Linked DNA regions of Homo sapiens: all the other regions are linked to region 7. Evidence: promoter capture Hi-C in 16 types of primary human blood cells and fetal thymus (Javierre and others, 2016). All regions are on one chromosome and are shown on one strand. Each heading gives the region's core, a stretch centred on a gene start or on the middle of the fragment in contact. The rest is flanking DNA. Distances are from core to core; before and after follow the strand shown.

Region 1 (2,740 bases), core at 168-2,667, 320 kb before region 7:
TCCAAAATGTTCCAAAATCTGAAACATTCTAAGCACTGACACAATGCTACAAGTGGAAAATTCCACACCTGACCTCATGTGATGGGTTGCAGTAAAAACTTTGTTTCATACACAAAAAAAAATTTTAAATAGTATATAAACTTACCTTCAGGTTATGTGTATATGGTGTATCTGAAATATAAATGAAGTTTGCGTTTGGACTTGGGTCTACCCCCAAGATATCTTATTACGTATATGCAAATATTCCAAAATCCTAAAAAATCTGAAATCTGAAACACTTCTGGTCCCAATCATCTCAGACGAGAAATACTGAATCAGTATAGCTACTCTCTAGGTCTGGTAAGTACTCCCTCCCTCTCCCCCTTTAGACCCAGGAGTGGAACAGTTCCCATCTGTTGATAGCCCCAGGGAGTGTTACCATTCCTGTTGGTTTTCCTTGATGCTGCCCACACCTTTGTATATATTGCCTTTGTTAAATTTTCTCCAGGTATCCTGTTTGAATGTGCCCTTTGTTTCCTGCTAGGAAAGGTAAAGGCTGGAGATTCAGATCTGGGAATCAACAGCCCAGGACTGAATTTAAAGCCATGAAAGCTTAAATGACATAACCTAGGGACTGAGTTTCAATAGAGAAAAGAGACATGGATGCACCTGGAATAATTCATTCTGTAGATGTGGGCCCTGAAACTAAAAGGTATCACTCTCAAGAGATTTCAGAGCAGAGGTGGACTGAATCTAAGTAAAACGGCAAACTAGCCCTGACCCAGTTCAACTCTATTTTTTTTCTTCGCTCTCCTCTCTTTCCTTTCCCTCTCCCTCCTCACTCACCACCTACACACGGCACCCACTCCTCACCAGAGCCTCTCGATTCCCCCAGCTCAATTCTTGATTCCTTTGAGGTGATTTTCTCCTCACCTAATATAACTAACAGAGGATAGATTCTTTTTTCTCTGGGGAACAAAGAATACCAACCCAGACACTATACTCCTTGTATTCACAATGTTGAGCATACAAAACTTTATACGTGTGTGTGTGTGTGCACGCGCGTGTACAGTGCAAAGAAGCAGGAAAATAAGACTAAGAATCAGGAGGAAAAGCAAACAATTAAAGCATGCCCACCAATGACCCAGATATTCAAGTCAGTAGGCTAGGACTTTAAGAATATTATTATATGGTGGCTGGCAATATGGCCGAATAGGAACAGCCCTGGTCTGCAGCTCCCAGTGAGATCAACACAGAAAGTGAGTGATTTCTGCATTTCCACCTGAGGTACCCAGCTCATCTCACTGGAACTGGTTAGACAGTGGGTGCAGCCCACGGAGGACGAGCTGAAGCAATGTAGGGCGTCGCCTCACTCGGGAAGCACAAGGGGTCAGGGAAGCCGTGAGGGACTGTGCCATGAGGAATGGTGCATTCTGGCACAGATACTATGCTTTTCTCACGGTCTTCACAACCTGCAGACCAGGAGATTCTCTCAGATGCCTACACCACCAGGGCCCTGGGTTTCAAGCACAAAACTGGATGGCCATTTGGGTAGACACCGAGCTAGCTGCAGGAGTTTTTTTTCATACCCCAGTGGTGCCTGGAATGCCAGCAAGACAGAAACTTTCACTCCCCTGGAAAGGGGGCTGAAGCCAGGGAGCCAAGTGGTCTAGCTCAGCAGATTCCATCCCCATGGAGCCCAGCAAGCTGATATCGACTGGCTTGAAATTCTTGCTGCCAGCACAGCAGTCTGAAGTCAACCTGGGATGCTGGAGCTTGGTGAGGGGAGGGGCATCTGCCATTACTGAGGCTTGAGTAGGAGGTTTTCCCCTCACAGTGTAAACAAAGCCACTGGGAAGTTCGAAGTGGGCAGAGCCCATCACAGCTCAGCAAAGCCCCTGTAGCCAGACTGCCTCTCTAGATTCCTTCTCTCTGGGCAGGGCATCCCTGAAAGAAAGGCAGCAGCCAGCAGCCCCAGTCAGGGGATTATAGAAAAAAGTCCCATCTCCCTGTGATAGAGCACCTGGGAGAAGGGGCGGCTGTGGGCACAGCTTCAGCAGACTTAAACATTCCTGCCTGCCAGCTCTGAAGGGACCAGCAGATCTCCCAGCAAAGCACTTGTGCTCTGCTAAGGGACAGACTGCCTCCTCAAGTGAGTTCCTTAACCCCGTGCCTCCTGACTGGGAGACACCTCCCAGCAGGAATCAACAGATACCTCATACAGGAGAGCTCTGGCTGGCATCTGACGGGCGCCTCTCTGGGATGAAGCTTCCAGAGGAAGGAAGAGGCAGCAATCTTTGCTGCTCTGCAGCCTCCACTGGTGATACCCAGGCAAACAGGATCTGGAGTAGACCTCCAGCAAACTCCAGCAGACCTGCAGCAGAGGGGCCTGACTGTTAGAAGGAAAACTAACAAACAGAAAGGAATAGCATCAACATCAACAAAAAGGACGTCCACACAAAAACCCCATCTGAAGGTCACCAACATCAAAGACCAAAGGTAGATAAATCCATGAAAAGGAGGAAAAACCATCACGAAAAGGCTGAAAATTCCAAAAATCAGAGTGCCTCTTCTCCAAAGGATCACAACTCCTCGCCTGCAAGAGAACAAAACTGGACAGAGAATTGAGTTTGACGAATTGACAGAAGTAGACTTCAGAAGGTGGGTAATAACAAACTCCTTTGAGCTAAAGGAGCATGTTCCAACCCAATGCAAGGAAGCTAAGAACCTTGAAAAAAGGTTAGAAGAATTGCTAACTAGA
Region 2 (2,977 bases), core at 420-2,919, 380 kb before region 7:
ATTGCTCTTTAATAAGGCTTTTGGAAGTACTGCATTACTACTACTACTATTACTTTTATTAGCCTTACAGTTTATAGCTGAGAATCCAGTATAATTTGGGAACTGCAGTTCAAAACCATGCAGTTAATGGCTCAGTTTCTAGCTAGTTAATGGCTGAGCCACAACTAGACTTCAAGACTCCTAGCACCCAAATAGAGATCTTTTATATCATGCACTCATGCCTTGATGGAATCTTATTCTGAACTTCTGTCATTGCTAATGCTGTTAAGTAAATATCTTTCATTTTAATCTACATTGTATGTAAAACATTAGCTATCAAACCTCAAACTCCATTTTATATGTCCAGAAAGGTATTAGGGCAGAACTGCCATCCCTCCCAGCCTCCACAGAATTAGGAAAGGAGTCATTGGGAGGCTTCTGGATATTCACGCCTTCACAAAGTCATTAAAATAGTCATTTTGGGCCAAGTGCGGTGGCTCATGCCTGTAATCCTAGCACTTTGGGAGGCCAAAGTGGGTGGATCCCTTGAGCTCAGGAGTTCAAGACCATCCTGAGAAACATGGCAAAACCCCCTCTTTACAAAAAATTAAAAAATTAGCCAGGCATGGTAGCATGCGCCTGTAATCCCAGCTACTCTGGAGGTGATGTGGGAGGATGACTTGCACCTGGGAGGCAGAAGTTGGAATGACCCTGCATTTTTAGCTTGGGCGACGGAGCCAGACCCTGTCTCATTAAAAAAAAAAAAAAAAAAAAAAAGAGAGTCATTTATTTTAAGCTTTCTAGATACTGAGCCAGGATGCTGAGATAGTGCAGGAAGGGATACACTGTGTGTTCTATAGGTAACTTTGCAGAGCCAAAGCAGTATGGGATAACTACATATGAAAAAAATGATTGTGATATGTCCATTTTTAGTAAATAAACTTCTGGCTTTTCACTGAGAGGCGTTTGGGAAATATTTATTGCAAGATTTTATGACAGAAAATGATGGAGTAGATTCTGGAAAGGTTGGCTGGAGTCCTGAGTCTTTCAAACCCAGGATGCTCACCTGTCCTTACATCACGGTGTATGTTTTAGAGACCTCAGACACAGTCGGGAGAGGAAAACACACATGGCCACAAAAGGGAGGTCACATGCTGGATGAAGATCTCCCTAGCATTATCTGCATGATTTTGCAATGAATTTTAAAGCTGCTCATTTTTTTAAAGTTCTGCTGCAGTGTGCTTCTGTCTTCCTATCTGTCTGAGAAGGGTCTTGCCTCATCTATACTTTATAATTGGGGGCCAGGTAAAGCACCATGCACAGAGCAGGCATTGAATAGATGTTTGTAGTTACTGACAGATTCGACGTCTATTTGTCAGATATTCTAAGTGTAACCTTCCTGGAAGATAATTGCTTTTACTTTGTGAATATTTTTCTAGGATTCTCACCCTTTACTGAGAGAAATCTTCTGGGTGGTCAGGAACTGTGAATCCTTGTAAATGTTTATGAAAGTCCCCATGATTTATAGCACATTATCAAATGCAAAAATAGATGTTGAGGTACTATCATTAGCCCATTGGAAAAATGCAGCTATTAAGCAGACAGTCCAATTGGCTTACTAATTTTCTTAAAGTGTGTGAAACAATGAATCTTAATAGAGTTTATGTATAAAGCATTTGTGCTTTAATGGGTCCACATTTTCACTCATATTTTATTAAAATCCTTTGCCATAAGCTGCAGTTAGGTAAGTAATTATACATTAGTCAGAGAGTTAAAAACATAAAAGCCAGGTAACTAAGGTAATTGAGCAGGATGAGGTCATTTTTCCTCCAGCACCAGATGGGTACCACAGGTAAAAACCGTAACACTTGATCTCTTCCATATGACTTAGAAAGAGATTAATGTTGGCATTGGTTTTAACTTTTAAATATTTTATAGTAAAAATTATTACTAAATGGTAAGTTATTGTTTTAAAATGAAACATTTGTTAGTATGCTTTTTGTGCAACAGCCAAGTTTAAAATTCTAATTCTAAAATGGAAAATAATATAAAAATTCAACTCTGCATCTGAAACAAAGAGTAATCTTCTCTTAGCTGATAATTTTCTGTGAACTGTGGTGGTATCATGATGACACCTTTTGGTGGGAGCCTATTAAATTATTCTCAATACTTTCATATTTGAGAAGACACTACTTAATGTACTAATGTATTAGATCTTTTTGTTGTGTCATCTGTGTGCTTTTCAGTTGGAAAGTATTGTGGTATATTTGCATTCATGTATATGCTCAAATTAGTTAGCATACAGAGTAGTGCAAACTTGGTTAGAAAAGTCACAGACATAAAGACAGCCTGACTGGAAGTCTGAGTGTGCAGGCAGCATGTCTACAGAGAAAAAGCGTGTTTTCATATTAACAAGTTTCTCCACTTTGGAGCTGAATGGTCTACAAAGATCTATGTGGATTGCCAATTCAGTGATCCAAATCAATGAAGGTTGACAACAGCAAACCTTATGGATTAGTCTTTCCACGCATCATCGTACTTGCAGAAGGCAGCCATTCTATGCTTTAGTTACCCAGAATTTGAAGAAGCTTGACCTGGAGCAACAACTGAAGGGAAAGAGGAAGGGGCACTATACAGAGATAGAGCTAGAGATATATGCCCTTTTTCTATATCTCAGACACTATGCTAGGTGCTTTAAATATTAGCTTATTTAATCCTTACAATAGCTCTTAGAGTAGAATTGTTATCCTTCTCCCTTGACAGATGATGCAACTGAAGTTCCTCAAAAAGATTAAGTAACCTATTCAGGGTCACAGAGATAACAGTGATGGATCTAGGATTAAAGCCCATGTCTGCCTGATTCGTTCATGCATCCACTCATGTGTTTATCTGACAAGCATTTATTGTGTGTCTATTGTGCTTAGTGAGGAAATACAGTGGTGCACAAGAATTACATTATCCTCACCCTCATGAGAGTTTCCAGCCACTTAAATAATTA
Region 3 (2,700 bases), core at 44-2,543, 360 kb before region 7:
GAAGTAGAAGTCCAGGCTTCCCACTTGCCTTCCTGTGATACCCAAAGGCCGGGAACTTCTTGACTCTATTTTGAGGAAACATAGTGTACATAGTTGATCAAACGTGAATTACTGTTGATTTTCATGACAGAATAGCCGCTTAAAAGAAGAACAGATTTGGCACATACGGCATCTACTAAAGGAACTGAGTGAAGAGAAGGCAGAGGGATTGCCAGTTGTAACAAGAGAGGATGTTGAAGAAGCGATGAAGGAAAAATGGAAGTTTGAAAGAGACCAGGAAAAAAACTTGAGAGGTGATTTAGGAACATAGAAAACTATCATAGAGTTGTGCCAAGTTATTTCTTGAATATATTAATGCTTTATTCTTCCAATATGTTCAAAATGCTGTTAAGTGTATTTTAAACGGCATCATTACCACCGCAGCCACAAACACATGTAGGTAAATGGGCAGGAGAGGGAAATAATAAAGTGGGTAGAGGTAATGAAGCCAAGCAAGGAGGTGGAAGAAGGGTAGTGATCAGAAACAGATGAAATTTATCTGACTGTTTTTTTTGGGATAGGGTGTAGTTCAGTCACCCAGGCTGGAGTGCAGTGGTGCGATCTCAGCTTACTGCAATCTTAACCTCCTGGGCTCATGCAGTCCTCCCACCTCAGCCTCCCAAGTAGCTGGGACTCCAGGTGCACACCACTATGCCTGAGAATTTTGTTCCTTTTTTGTAGAGATGAGGTCTTGCTATGTTGCCCAGGCTGGTCTCGAACTCCTGGGCTCAAGGGATAGTCCCACCTCAGTCTCCCAAAGTTCTGGGATTACAGGCGTGAGCCACCATGCCCAGCCTCATCTGACTCTTACAACAGGACAGTATCTTGTTAAACACCATTACTCATAGTAGGGTTTTGTTCTTTTTCTTTTTTTTCTTTTTTTTTTTAATTCTGTTGTTTGGTGGTTTCATTGACTTCAGCTTCAGCTTAGATTTGGGAATGATAAGGCAAATAAAACCATGAAAAATGTTTCTCCCAATATCTCTAAGGGAGCCAAGCACCCCATTAGATGGAGGAAATAGGGATTAGCGTTGGGAAAGGGGAAGTTTGGAGAACATGGGTAGTAATGACACTAGGTGCAGGCAATGAAAGACCCAGGGCATACTCTTGCTGTAGGCTTAGGAAATACCATGGTACTGAGGGTAAATCATGCAGTTCTGACATACACATTTTGAAATTCCTATTCTTTCATTCTAAACTTGCTGCTAAGATTTCTAGGACCACTTTTGCCAAAACCTCCATAAATAACATCCCTGCTAGGAAGCTGGAAAACATGAGAAAGAGACCTAAGTGCTATCATTTGTTAGCCCTTAGGAAATCCACGTATTTCTGGATTTCTCCAAGTGCCTACTTAGCTGAGCACTTTGCACACAGCAGGCTCTCCACTCAATAGATATTTGCTGTTTTGAGTGAAATCGTTTCCAAGACCAAACATCAATAGGCAAGTTTCATTTTTAGGGGAGTCCAAAACTGTTCCCATAGACCTCCTCCTACCCAAGTCTCTTCATTGGCAATAGGGATGTCATGACATGGTAGATAGTATATTTTGCATGACTTCTTTCCAAAAGAGTTCTGCTTATATTTGGAAGGAATACTTTAGTAAGTCCCTTGAGATGGAGTGAGACCCCAAAGGATGCTCAGCTGTGCTCGCTAAACTGCCTTCTAAAGGAATGGGCCCAGTTAGTTGAGATGCGCCTGTTGATGGTTTGGGCTGAGCATGGGGATGTGTCATACAAGACTGGGCCACACGGCATGACTGAGCACAATAGAGGAGGACTGGACATGCATGGGAAGAAAGGAAGCTCACAGACATGGAGGAAGAGAGGGAAAGTAAGAGAACAGAAGTGTCTGGAAAACATTTCCGAGGTAGTCACTTTATGTCCCAGGTAGTCCCTTGCAACTCATTTTGGTGTGGAGCAGCAGCAAGTGCTTCACCTATCAGCTTGTTACAATGCCAATTCCCAGGCCCCACCCAGACCTACTGAATCAGAATCCGCATTCTGACAAGATCCCAGGGGATTCCTATGCACAGTAAGGTTTGAGAAATACTGCTGCAACCCTTTTCATCCAACTTTTAGTAAGGACTCTTTCAGTTGCAAGGATAAAAAATCCAAGTCAAACTAGCCTAAGCATAAAGGGGATGTTAGTCTTTTCACATCACTTAACACAGAAAGACAGAGTGCTTCTGACCTGGATACAAGGCTTCACATGCTGTCAGATCTCAGCTTAAACAAACAAACAAAAATCTCTGGGGCGTATGTGTTACTAGAAGGGAAGGGAAGAAGTTCTAAGAAAGTAGAAAAACAGCCACTACATCCATCTCCCTTTTACAATCTTCAGTGACATCTACCAACCCTCCCCTCAAAGGCCAAATGGGGCACTGGCCTGAGACAGTAGCAGTCTGCTCGAATGAGAGAACAACTACCCATCTGGCTTATAGTAGTACTGATAATTGTTTAATGAAAATAACCACCATTTGTTAAGAGATTTTAAATATAGTATCTTGTGGCCAGGCATGGTGACTCATACCTGTAATCCTAGCACTTTGGGATGCCAAGGCGGGCAGATTGCCTGAGGTCAGGAGTTCGAGACCAGCCTGGCCAACATAGTGAATGAAACCCTGTCTCTACTAAAAATACAAAATTAGCCGGACGTGGTGGT
Region 4 (2,905 bases), core at 74-2,573, 300 kb before region 7:
ATCAACAAAACATAACAGCAGCTTTGCAAGGAGTTTCCCAGGAAATCAAGGCAGTTGAAAGCCTTACTGATGACCCCCAACAAACATGGTGGGCATCCCTGGGCTCTGGCCTATGCTGGACTCTTAATAATTATGGGTAGCATAGTGAGAATATTAATAGTGAGTTGAGTGAGTTGTTGCTCTCTGTATTGCTGCTGTGGCCTCTGGGTCCAGGGTTCTGCCCTGTGGGCACATCTCCCCACTAGGAGAACTCCCTCAGCCTAGGGGGTGGAGTATAAGGAAAATGGCTATGCTTCAGTCAGGAGTAGGCCAAGGCAGACATCCAGTACAGCACGACACAGCAGGTTTGGAGTGCAGGCACAAAATCTTGTGCACTATGTAATCACACTTATGTAGTCATTTAATGTAACCTGTTTGTGTGAGCCCATATGTGGCTTTAAGCCACTGTTGTCTGTGAGAAATATAATGGCACTGCTGACTCTGTAGGAGAGGGGGAGAGAATAAAGCCATGTCCCAACTGCCTATGGTCCCTCGAGTGTTCTTTCAGCTACCCACCACCCATCCACCAGCTCCCCTCAGACCTCAGCTCAGGTTGGAACCTGACAGACTAAAAAAGTCTTGTTTGCTGCCAAGAAGATGTCAGAGTTGAGAAGGCATCATTTGGAAAGGGAAGGGGAAAGAATGTCTGTATTAGTTCATTTGCATTGTTATAAAGGGATACCTGAGGCTGGGTAATTTATTTTAAAAAAGAGGTTTCATTGGCTCACAGTTCTGCAGGCTCTACAGGAAGTGTGATGCAAGCATCTGCTCTAGGCAAGGGTTGCAGGAAGTTTACACTCATGGTGGAAGGTGAAGGGGGACAGGTTTATCACATGGCAAGAGCAGAAGTGAGAGACAGAAGGGAGATGTTCCAGACTGTCTTAAACAACCAGATCTCATGTGACCTGAGCAAGAACTCACTTATCACCAAGGGGATGGTGTTAAACCATTCATGAGGCATTTGCCCTCATGATCCAATCACCTCCCACCAGGCCCTACCTCCAACATTGGAGATTACATTTCAACATGAGATTTGGAGGAGACAAACATTCAAACCATATCAATGTGCTTTCCTTCCATTAGTATCATTTCTTGTGTTTGAGATTTGCAGAATAGCAGTATCTCTAAAATAAATCTGCAGTTTTCTCAACAACTCAAATTCCAAACAGCTTACAATGGTAGCTTTGTTAATGACTACATTGCAAAGCAACTCTCAATAAAGTTGTACCACTGTGAACTTCCTATGGGTGTCACTCATTCAACAAAGCATTTATGGAACCAGTCAGGCACTGTTTGTAAGGTTTTAGGGATGCAAAATCAAACTGCTTCTTTCCTCAAATAGCTCATGGTCCACTAAGAGAGCCTGAGCCATCATTGCTGCTTTCAGTCTTCAGCAATAACAAGGAGGGAAGGAAGCAAGGAAAGTGGGAGAAGACAGGAAAAGCTATTCTAGGTGTGGTGGGTGAGGCTACCATGTGTTTAGCTCACACTGTTTTTAGTACCTTTAGTAATAGGCTTGGAAAAAGCAATTTAAGTAAAAATGAGTTTAGGAGGATTTTTATGTAGGTTTCAGTTCTCAGAATAACAAAGTATTTGAGTTTTGCATGTTGTTATTCAAGATTTGAGGGGCAGGAACAAGGTGGTTGGAGCTTGAGCTTCAGGGTAGTAAGTTGCTTACTTTAGGCCAAAAATTAGCTAGGTTTGAAGAAATTAAGGAGGTGTAAAGAGACAGAGTATGGGAAAACACATTCTGTGGAGTCAGGCTGGCTGCCTTTGCATCTTGGGTGGTCACTTAACCTCTTTAAACCCTGGTTTCCTCAACTATACTTTACAAACCTAATTCCCATACTGCAGTATTATTTAAGGATTAGAAAGTGTGTAACCTACACATAGTAGACATGCAATATATGGCAGTTGAAAAAATTGACATATAACAGGAATCTCTAAAGATTCTCTGGAAGTAGCCAAAGAGTATGGTTGTCTTTGCAATGCATTCACGTAAAGGCACACAGAGCAGAGTCTGTGTCCAATCCGTCACATGGTGTCAGGTGCAAACCAGTATGATGACAGCCGGGCTCTACACACTTTAAGTTTTAATTTGTATAGATATATGATAGTTTTATATGCATATGGGGTAACTACATGCTTATTAATCCAAAGGCTCGCTCTGTCTTTTGCTGAGAGCAAATCAGTCACCGCCCTGGTATAGGGGCATGGTCTTCATCCAGTAGGCTCCAAGGGCCCATCCTGAATCTGCTGATCTACTTGAGGCTGTAGGGACAAGTAGTAAACCTAGTTCCAAAATTCTTATGTGTAGCAGGAGGTGGGGTACAGGCATTTTTGTCTCTTCTCAAGCCATGTAGTCAGACACTAGAACCATTCAGGGAACAGAGAGGCTAGGTTAGTTTTATGGCAACAAAGGGCTGTTTGTTAAAGGACTGATTTCCTTGCTTGTTTTACTAGATGCCAACACAACAGTTCTCTGTATTTTTCTTGGAATAAACTGGCTTTTGTAACAGACACAAGGAAATGCACCCTCGAACAACTGAGGCTTTCTAAATATTAGTGACTTTAACTTGATTAAGTATTTCCATTTCCTATTCCTATGACTTTGTGAGGCTCATGTTCCCAGAAAGCCTTTTTTTTTTTTTTTGTATCGTGACTCTTTAGGTTGGTTATGTTTTAGGTCATTCTGTTCTTATGATCTGAGTAAGTGCTAAAAGCCTTTAAGATACTTTTAAAGAATCTTTAAATAGAAATGTTTTCAGATTTCCAGCACAACAAATGAGTCTTAAAGTAACTGCAGATTCAGATATCCTCACAGATTCTTAGCATAAGGTTTTGTCAGCATTTCCTTCCTCAAGTC
Region 5 (2,700 bases), core at 143-2,642, 470 kb before region 7:
CTGCAGAGACCTTTGAGGAGGGTTTTTTAAATCTTCTAAATTTGAGATGGGGTATTGGTAGGAGAAAAGTTGGGTGAAAGGATCTCATTCTTCAAACACAAGAATTCTCCTAAATCTTTCCATCTTAGGCCTGGACCCCAATCTCAGAGAATCAAAAGCCAAGAGTTTGATATCTTGGTCTCTGGTTCTGCAGTAACAGCCCTCCTCTAGCTTCCTCCAGCAGTGGGCAGAAAGGCTTTGGTAACCTGTGTCTCCAGCATATAGCAGGCGCCTCATTTATTGAGTAAATGAAGAAGAGGAAAAAAAAGATCATTAAGAAAAAAAGCAAAACAATTCAATGGAATACAGAAAAGGCCAAAAAAGGGCTGTGCAAAAAAGTTTGATAAGTTATGTTCCATAAGTATGTTAATTCTATGGTAGGCAGAATAACAGTCCTCCAAAGATACCCACATCCTAATCCCTGGAACCTGAAGATATGCTGCCTTACATGGTAAAAGAAACTTTGTAGATATCATTGTTAAGAATCTTGTGGGGAGATTATCCTAGATTATCTAATGAGGCCCAATGTAATCACAAGGTCCTTATAAGAAGGAATTAGAATAGTCAGAAGGAGAGAGAGGAGATATGAGGCTGAAAATGTTGGAGTGATGTGTTTTGAAGATGGAGGAAGGGGCCATGAGCCAAGGAATGCAGGCAGCCTGTAGCAGCTGGAAAAGGCAAGGAAACAGATTCTCCCCTAGAGCCTCCTGAAGGAATTCAGCTCTGTTGATCTCTTGATTTTAGCCTGTAAGATCCATTTCAGACTTCTGACTTCTAGAATTATATAAGTTTGTGTTGTCTTAAGCCCCTAAGTTCATCACAGCAGTAATAGAAAATTAATACACAGTCTGAGGACACGATGTTACTTATTCATCTCTGAGTCCATCTGTGAGTTGTGCCAAACCCCTATTGACTCCAACAGGGATGGCACCCAGTTTAAGAGGCTGAAGAAGAGACCCAAAGCCTGCAAATGAAACATGGGGTTTTATCAGCGGCTTACATACAGGGAAGAGAGTCCAGTAGCGGTGGGCTGGACAGGAGAACCACCAGTCCAGTGGCAGCAGGCTGGACAGAATAACCGCACAGGCCCGTGGTGGTAGGCTGGGCAGGAGAACCACAACCACTTGCAAAAACACGCAGTTTATGTAGCATTTTCACTTGGCACCCTTCCCCTAACAACCTCCACCTGGCAACCATCATTTAACCCAAAACAAAGGGCCTCATTTCACAGGACAGCTGGGGGCTCAGATGTTCCTCATAGATAAGGAATAGATCTCCAGGTTGGCCACTCCCAGATTCATTAGCTCAGAACTCTGAACACACATTCTGGTAAATCTGCCACACAGTCATGCTCAGGGTGTGCTCAAGTCAAGTTATTGCTGTTGGATTCGTATTGCATCTGCTATACAAATCCCTAGCATGCTGCCTGGAACCTGTTAACTAAGTACATCCTCATAAGTAACTCTGAGGTGACACTATGGATGCTTTCCTCTCCTCATCCTAAAAACCAATCATTGCCAGACTGAACCTGTGCAATCTCCCTCCAGTACAACTCTTTCTCCCCTTGTCTACCACTCATGTAGGCGGATGTAATTTTCTCTGAACATGGCTTCATTCACTCCTGGTTCTCCCTCATTTCTGTCTACCATACACAATCCAGCTAGACTCATATCCAAAGCACCACTCTCATCATGCCATGCCTTGACTCGAAAACCTTCCCAAGCACTTCCCTGATGGCAGAGAAGTCCAAATTCCTTACTCCAGTATTGGCATCCTTCTCATTTCATTCCAAGTTCCCTATCCAATCTTCTTTCCTACAGGACCATTCCTACCCCTTGAACTACAGCCCATCCATTCCCCACATATCACCTGTACACTATCATCGCCAGACCATTGTTTATGCCATTCTCTCTACCTGGAATGTCTTTACCTTTTATCTGCACACATCCAACCCTTTCCTATCACTCAAGTCCCAGTGTAAATGACACCTCCTCCATGAAACTGCTCCTGCAGCCCATTTCCCCTCACAAATACCCCTACCACAAGCAGGCAACATTTTCTCTTTCACTGAGCCCAATAATACTTATCCGTACATCTCTCATCTGAAGTAGGAAAGAGCCCAGGCTCTAGAGTCAGATAGACCCGAATATAATGTGGCCCTATTATACAAGTTACTTAGCTTCCCTGAGCCTCGGGTTTCTCATCTGTAAAATGGGCATCATACCTATCTTACTGAGTTGTCAAGAAAATTAATGCTTATATATAGGTACCCAACACAGTAATTATTCAATAACTAACATTTTGTAACTTATAGATATATCAAATTCCCACTTCTAGACTCTTTGAGGGAAGGATTTTTGTCCATTTTTAGCCACACTGCACCTGATACATAGTAGTGGAAAAAAACATAAATAGTTACCAAAGTGTTGAGAGCATCTCTCGAGACTTCCTGACCGGTGTAGTCTAAGGATGGTTTCACCTTTAGACACTTCAGAGAGCAGGGGAGAAGCACACTGGATCTCTGCGATCATCAGTGTTCAATATAATTCTTAAAATGGAAACTTGGCAAGACTCCCTGTCTTTGGTTAATTAACGTAAATGAATGTAAACAACTATTCATCCCAACCAACAGTAATAAAGTAATAAATCAGTATTTCTTTC
Region 6 (2,784 bases), core at 222-2,721, 340 kb before region 7:
CTTGGACTTTGATTATCAATTTCTTTGTGAATCATTTTGTAATCTCTCCAGGAAATCTTGGGAGCTCCTTCCCCAGTGTTTTCTTGTTTTATTGTAATTCTTGCTGAAAGATGTTGAAATTGTCTATTTATGCATCTGTCTCATTAATACACAGAGCAGGCTATATCTTTTCAACTATATTTCCATGGCACCTGATAAATAATCTGTGCTTATTAGTTATTGAATGACTGAATGTCAATGAATATAGATATATTCATTGAAGGGATTAATCAAATAAATAGCTTAGATCATAGGTTAAAACCTTTGTGAATTGTTTATTGTAGTTCAAGATGGTAGGCTGCATCCTACCTCTCCTGAGGGCTCGCTGAAATAAAATTATAAAAATTATAAAAATACAAAAAGAACTCATCCACAAAGAGAACAAGAGGAGTTAACTAGCAGGTGAGATTTCAGAAATCTTCTGAAAGACAAAAAGTAGATGTGAGAGTATGTTGTTGGATGAAACGAGAAGGTATTGCTTGGGCCAGACGTTACAAGAGAACTACAGAGGATGTGCAAAACTCAATGTTTTTGGAATCCTGGGAGATTCTCTGCTCAGAGTCTGTGTGTGCTATAGATGGTGGGAATGGGAACTGGAGCAGAAAACAAGAGGGTTACTTGATGATCTGAATAGGGAGCATCTGTATCAGTAAGCATCTGCCATCACCCTCTACAATTTCCCTCACATACCACCAAAGTGTTTACTTTTGACCTAAGAACCTGATGACTGTCCTCTGAGAACACTAAACAAATTATCAGATAAAGGCAAAGGTTTCTAGTGTAGACCTTAGATGTTTCTGTGCCCCACAGAAAATCCTTCCTATGTTGGCATTTAGGAAGCCACAACCTAATATCCCACTCTTGCCTTCTCATCCTTTGGGATTTGCCAGTTCACACCACCTGCCATACCACATACAGTCTCCAGTCCACATTCCCATTCAGAGGAAAAATTTGGTATGAAAACAGTCCTATTTACACAGTGGTGGGGAAAATCCATGCCACTCCCCAGACTTTTCTTAAATATAAATAGACATCCAAGGACCACCAGGCATTTGAGTACATTTGGCACAACAGAAGAGAAAGGCCAAGTGAATTAACAACAAAATAAAAAATAAACAATAACAACAAAAACAGCCTGTGGAAGAAATAGAAAAAATTTAGGGAACTGTGAAGGTCTTTTGTTAGTATACTCAAAATAATCTGGCCAGGCATAGTGGCTCACACCTCTAATCCCAGCACTTTGGGAGGCTGAGGAGGGCAGATCGCTTGAGGCCAGGAGTTCAAGACCAGCCTGGCCAACATGGCAAAACCTCATCTCTACTAAAAATACAAAAGTTAGCTGGTCACGGTGGCTCACACCTGTAGTCCCAGCTACTTGGGAGGCTAAAGTATGAGAATCGCTTGAGCCCGGGAGGCAGAGGTTGCAATGAGCCAACATCCCATCAATGCATTCCAGCCTGGGCGACAGAGCGAGACCCTGTCTAAAAAAAAAAAAAAAAATTCTGGCCAGACACATTGGCTCACATCTATAATCCCAGCATTTTGGGCGACCAATGCAGGCAGATCACTTGAGTGCAGGAGTTTGAGACCAGCCTAGGCAACATGGTGAAACTCCATCTCAATATATATATATATTTTAAATTTGAGAAGGCATTTTATTTATAAAACAAGATGCTTTAAGAACAAAAATCAAATATAAAACAGGAAATAGACCAGGCATGGTGGCCCATGCCTGTAATTCCAGCACTTTGGCAAGTCAATGCAGGAGGATTGCTTTAGCCCAGGAGTTTGAGACCAGCCTGGGTAACATAGTGAAACCCCATCTATACAAAAAATAGAAAAGTTAACCAGGCATGGTGGTGAGCACCCGTAGTCCCAAATACCCAGGAGGCTGAAGTGGGAGAACTGCTTCAGCTCAGCAGGTCAAGGCTGCAGTCAGCTGTGATTGAGCCACTGCACTCCAGCCTGGGCAACAGATTGAGACTCTGTCTCAAAAATAAAATAAAATAAAATAAAATAGGGAACAGAGAACAAATCTCAAAACAGGGAAGACCACAATACAAAAAAAAAAAAGGAAGAAGAAAAATAAGAGACATAGAGTACTAATGTAAGATGTACAATATCCAACTAATACAAATACACAGTAATTTCAGAAAGAAAGAATAAGAACCAGAGCAGTGGCTCACTCCTGTAATCCCAACACATTGGGAAGCTGGGGTGGGAGGATTGCTAGAGCCCAGGCATTCAAGACCAGACTAGGCAACATAGCAAGATCCCGGCTCTACAAAAAATAAAAAAAAATTAGCCAGGCATGGTGGTGCAGGCCTGTGGTCTCAGCTACTCAGGAGGCTGGAGTGGGAGAATCACTTGAGCCCAGGAGGTCAAGGCTGCAGTGAGCTATGATCGCACCATTGCACTCCTGCCTGGGTGACAGACTGTCTCAAAGAAAGAAAAAAGAAAGAAAAAAAGGGCAAATAGAGGGAAGGGAATCATCAATGAAATAATAGAAGAAAATTTCAGGGTTCTGAAAAGGACATGAATTTTCAGAACACCAAGAACAAAAGGAAAATCCTAAAAGATTCTGGCAGAAGCAGGTGGGGGTGGGGGTGAAGTTAACTACAAGGGAATAAGACCCAAACTGACATTTGATTTTTCAATAGCAAAGTTCAGATGAAAAATTATTTTTAACTTGGAGTTCTATAGTCAGCTAAAGTAGATTAAGGACAAATAAAGCTATTTTCAGAA
Region 7 (2,700 bases), core at 156-2,655:
TGAAAATGTCATGCCAAAGCACGTCTTACTTTGTCAGGAGCTTACTCTACTCCAGTCTCATCTCTTCTCACCAACTGAGGAGTGCTTAGTAGTGCCTGGAACATTGGAAGTACTGAACAAATGACTGCCGTCATTGAGACCTCAACTTTAATTTTTTTTCGGCTTCTTTATTTCAAAGTCTTCACTGCAGAAACCTCTCATTCTGACCTGCCTTTGCTTTACTTCCTTTTCTCATTCTCAACCAAGAGTTCTCTCTTTATCTACAAAAGAAAGAGTGACTTGCAATCTGCAGATAAGGAAACTGATGTCCTGGTTATAAAGTTATCATGCAGAAATAATTCAAGTATACTAGAATTTTATGGATGGTGCACTCTAGGTGGGTAATGAGGTCTAGAAGAGAAAAGATATACAACATCAAGCAGGTGCCCAAGAAATGGTAGGTCCCTTTCTCCCTTCCTGCCTCCTCATTTTTACAGATGAGGACATTTTTACAGAAGCCCGAATAGATAAGTAGTCACAATCATGTTCTAAGAAAAACAAAAAAAAGGTGGCGGATGCCGTATTTTATTTTTCGTCATCACTCTCCTTTTCCTGCTGCTCATTCAGTTATGGTTTCATGACCCATATAATAATTCCACAAGGCTCACCAATGTTATCTGGCACCTGCTAGAGAATAGATATAGTAACAGAGGCAAATATTTTGGTGAAGTTTAACAGTTGTGTTGCCTTCTAGAATTTCATTGTATCTGATGTGCAAAAACAAGCAAAACATTGTCGGTTAAGTATCACAATCTCATAATGGAGATGAGCACTGATTCTTAGGCCTTGGCGTAGTTCAGGGCCTATCCTTTAGCAGCTAAAAAGAGCACTTTGGCTGTAACTCATTGGAGTCTAGTCTCATAATGTTAGGATATTTCTATTTAAGTCTTAACCACTATTGGTAGCAACTGGAAGGATAATCATTCATTACAATAAATAGTCAACAGAATAAATATCCGACAAGAATTTACGAAGCGTCTAGAGTATAATTCGGTAGCGCTTTGAAATCCACCCTGGGATTCGGAAACCGGGTAGAAAACTACCTGGTTCAGCAAACGAGAATTCAAACAGAGGAGGGGCTTGGAGGAGGCGGGTTTCGACGAACCCAGCGCAAGAGTACGCCACGGCGCCTGCGCATCCCCTGACGGGTACTTTCCATTCGCCAGATGGGGGAAGCCAGGGGGAAGCAGGTTACTGTTTTTGCATTTCTATCTTCAAGGAAGAATTAGGTTATGAATAGTTCCGTGAATAGTCAGGAAGCGCTGTCCTCCAAGTTCAAGATTAAGGAAACGTGGCATGCACAGCTAAAGCAAGAGGTGACGTCTTGTATCTTCCCCCGTTTCCTGGGACATTGGTGGTGTAGCCCATTCCACAGACTTTCGCTCCCTAGCAGCGGGTCGGAGATCGAAGGAACGGGCCAATTGCGGCTGAAACGTCTTTGGAAGGAGGAAGGGGGTGAGGGAGCATCCCTTTGAGTTTCGCCTCTTCTCGAGGCGGTGGTGGGAAGGGAGACATACTTAATACTGCCCTCTTAATCCAACGGACCTTACATCGTGTAGACTGCCGGGAGGGCGGCGGGAAAAGGGCAAGACGGGAGTTGGGGAAGGGAAGGAGCCAGGAAGCCGCGCGGGAGGGCGCGCGCGCGCGCCCCTTTTTCAGCAGTGTGGCGGGGTCGCACGCACGCCCGCCTCGGCGGCTGGGCGCGATTTGCGACAGTGGGGGGGGCGGTGGAGGTGGCGGCGGCAGCGGCAACTTTGCGGCAAGCTCGGGCCGGGCTTGCTTGACGGCGGTGTGGCGGAGGCCCCGCCCCAGGCGGCAGGAACCTGGAGGGAGGCGGAGGAATATGTCCGAGAGGGAAGTGTCGACTGCGCCGGCGGGAACAGACATGCCTGCGGCCAAGAAGCAGAAGCTGAGCAGTGACGAGAACAGCAATCCAGACCTCTCTGGAGACGAGAATGTAAGTGCAGCTTCTGGCAGTTACGAGACTGCGGAGTGAAAGTTTTAAATTCTTTTAAAACGGGGGGCGCGGGGACGAGCGGGCTGCTGTGGGGGGAGGGAGAGGTGTCACTCAGGAAAACGCGGGCGTGCGGGAGAAAATTGAAATTGCCTACGGGGATTTTGATGTGGGGCCGAGAGCAAGCAGGAACTAGGCAAAGGAGAGTGGTTCTAGTGATTGCGTGGGTCTGAGAAGTCTGCCCTGAAATCAGTTTGCATGTGATGGGGAGTGTTTTGGCCTTTGGGGGGATTTAAGGGGAGAGTGCGGGTCTGAGATTCTAGTAGTTTAAAAGGCACGTTAGAGACTTTTCTAAGAAAGTTGGAAGGACGGGGCAGAGTTAGGGACCCTGTTAAAGGAGCGTAAGGGTTGTCACTCTAAGACCCTTGTGGAATTTTCAGGATGGAAAGTGATCTTCGATTTGCGGAGTTTGGGAGACTTTATTAAAGGGGGTTTTGTGTCCGCCTCCGTCCTGTCCGCGGAGACCGGGTGCGCCTGAAGGTCGCCTTTTCTGTAGGAGGAGCCGAATTGAGAGGATCGATTTTTGATTTGGGGGTGGGGAGTGACTACCTTTGAGGAAGTAAGAGTGGGTGATTTCTTCTTTGAACGTTTTTACTTAAGATAAAGGTGAGGGGGGTGGCGACCTGGAAGATTTTGGGCAACAGTGG

The links. Contacts are between HindIII fragments. The CHiCAGO score rates a contact against its expected background, and 5 or more counts as called.
Region 1: a contact is called between a fragment that was not itself captured here and the fragment with the promoter of EED in region 7, in 7 of 17 cell types (monocytes, neutrophils, M0 macrophages and 4 more). The highest score is 13.7, in monocytes.
Region 2: a contact is called between a fragment that was not itself captured here and the fragment with the promoter of EED in region 7, in 17 of 17 cell types (neutrophils, monocytes, M0 macrophages and 14 more). The highest score is 26.0, in neutrophils.
Region 3: a fragment that was not itself captured here is called in contact with the fragment with the promoter of EED in region 7 in 9 of 17 cell types (neutrophils, monocytes, M2 macrophages and 6 more); the score reaches 12.0 in neutrophils.
Region 4: a contact is called between a fragment that was not itself captured here and the fragment with the promoter of EED in region 7, in 12 of 17 cell types (monocytes, neutrophils, M0 macrophages and 9 more). The highest score is 34.1, in monocytes.
Region 5: a fragment that was not itself captured here is called in contact with the fragment with the promoter of EED in region 7 in 5 of 17 cell types (activated CD4 T cells, total CD4 T cells, naive CD8 T cells and 2 more); the score reaches 8.1 in activated CD4 T cells.
Region 6: a fragment that was not itself captured here is called in contact with the fragment with the promoter of EED in region 7 in 5 of 17 cell types (neutrophils, monocytes, M2 macrophages and 2 more); the score reaches 12.6 in neutrophils.

The regions. Positions count from the first base shown.
Region 1 is chr11:85,923,161-85,925,900 of GRCh38, forward strand. No RefSeq gene overlaps it. Among named protein-coding and RNA genes, the nearest start is that of CCDC83, 69 kb to the left of the region's middle. The HindIII fragment of the contact is 1,656 bases long and covers 590-2,245 here.
Region 2 is chr11:85,861,266-85,864,242 of GRCh38, forward strand. All of the region lies in intron 1 of CCDC83 (coiled-coil domain containing 83), which reads left to right. Among named protein-coding and RNA genes, the nearest start is that of CCDC83, 7.4 kb to the left of the region's middle. The HindIII fragment of the contact is 1,792 bases long and covers 774-2,565 here.
Region 3 is chr11:85,882,383-85,885,082 of GRCh38, forward strand. It overlaps CCDC83 (coiled-coil domain containing 83), which reads left to right. Exons shown (of 11, transcript NM_001286159.2): 4 at 131-293. Among named protein-coding and RNA genes, the nearest start is that of CCDC83, 28 kb to the left of the region's middle. The HindIII fragment of the contact is 7,028 bases long and covers 1-2,700 here.
Region 4 is chr11:85,945,137-85,948,041 of GRCh38, forward strand. No RefSeq gene overlaps it. Among named protein-coding and RNA genes, the nearest start is that of CCDC83, 91 kb to the left of the region's middle. The HindIII fragment of the contact is 4,095 bases long and covers 1-2,905 here.
Region 5 is chr11:85,768,725-85,771,424 of GRCh38, forward strand. The region is part of intron 1 of SYTL2 (synaptotagmin like 2); the gene reads right to left. Among named protein-coding and RNA genes, the nearest start is that of SYTL2, 41 kb to the right of the region's middle. The HindIII fragment of the contact is 9,047 bases long and covers 1-2,700 here.
Region 6 is chr11:85,899,542-85,902,325 of GRCh38, forward strand. All of the region lies in intron 7 of CCDC83 (coiled-coil domain containing 83), which reads left to right. Among named protein-coding and RNA genes, the nearest start is that of CCDC83, 46 kb to the left of the region's middle. The HindIII fragment of the contact is 6,819 bases long and covers 1-2,784 here.
Region 7 is chr11:86,243,348-86,246,047 of GRCh38, forward strand. EED (embryonic ectoderm development) reads left to right here and starts at 1,406. Exons shown (of 12, transcript NM_003797.5): 1 at 1,406-1,996. The coding sequence starts at 1,883. RefSeq lists enhancers at 859-1,389, 1,390-1,918. The HindIII fragment of the contact is 4,943 bases long and covers 1-2,700 here.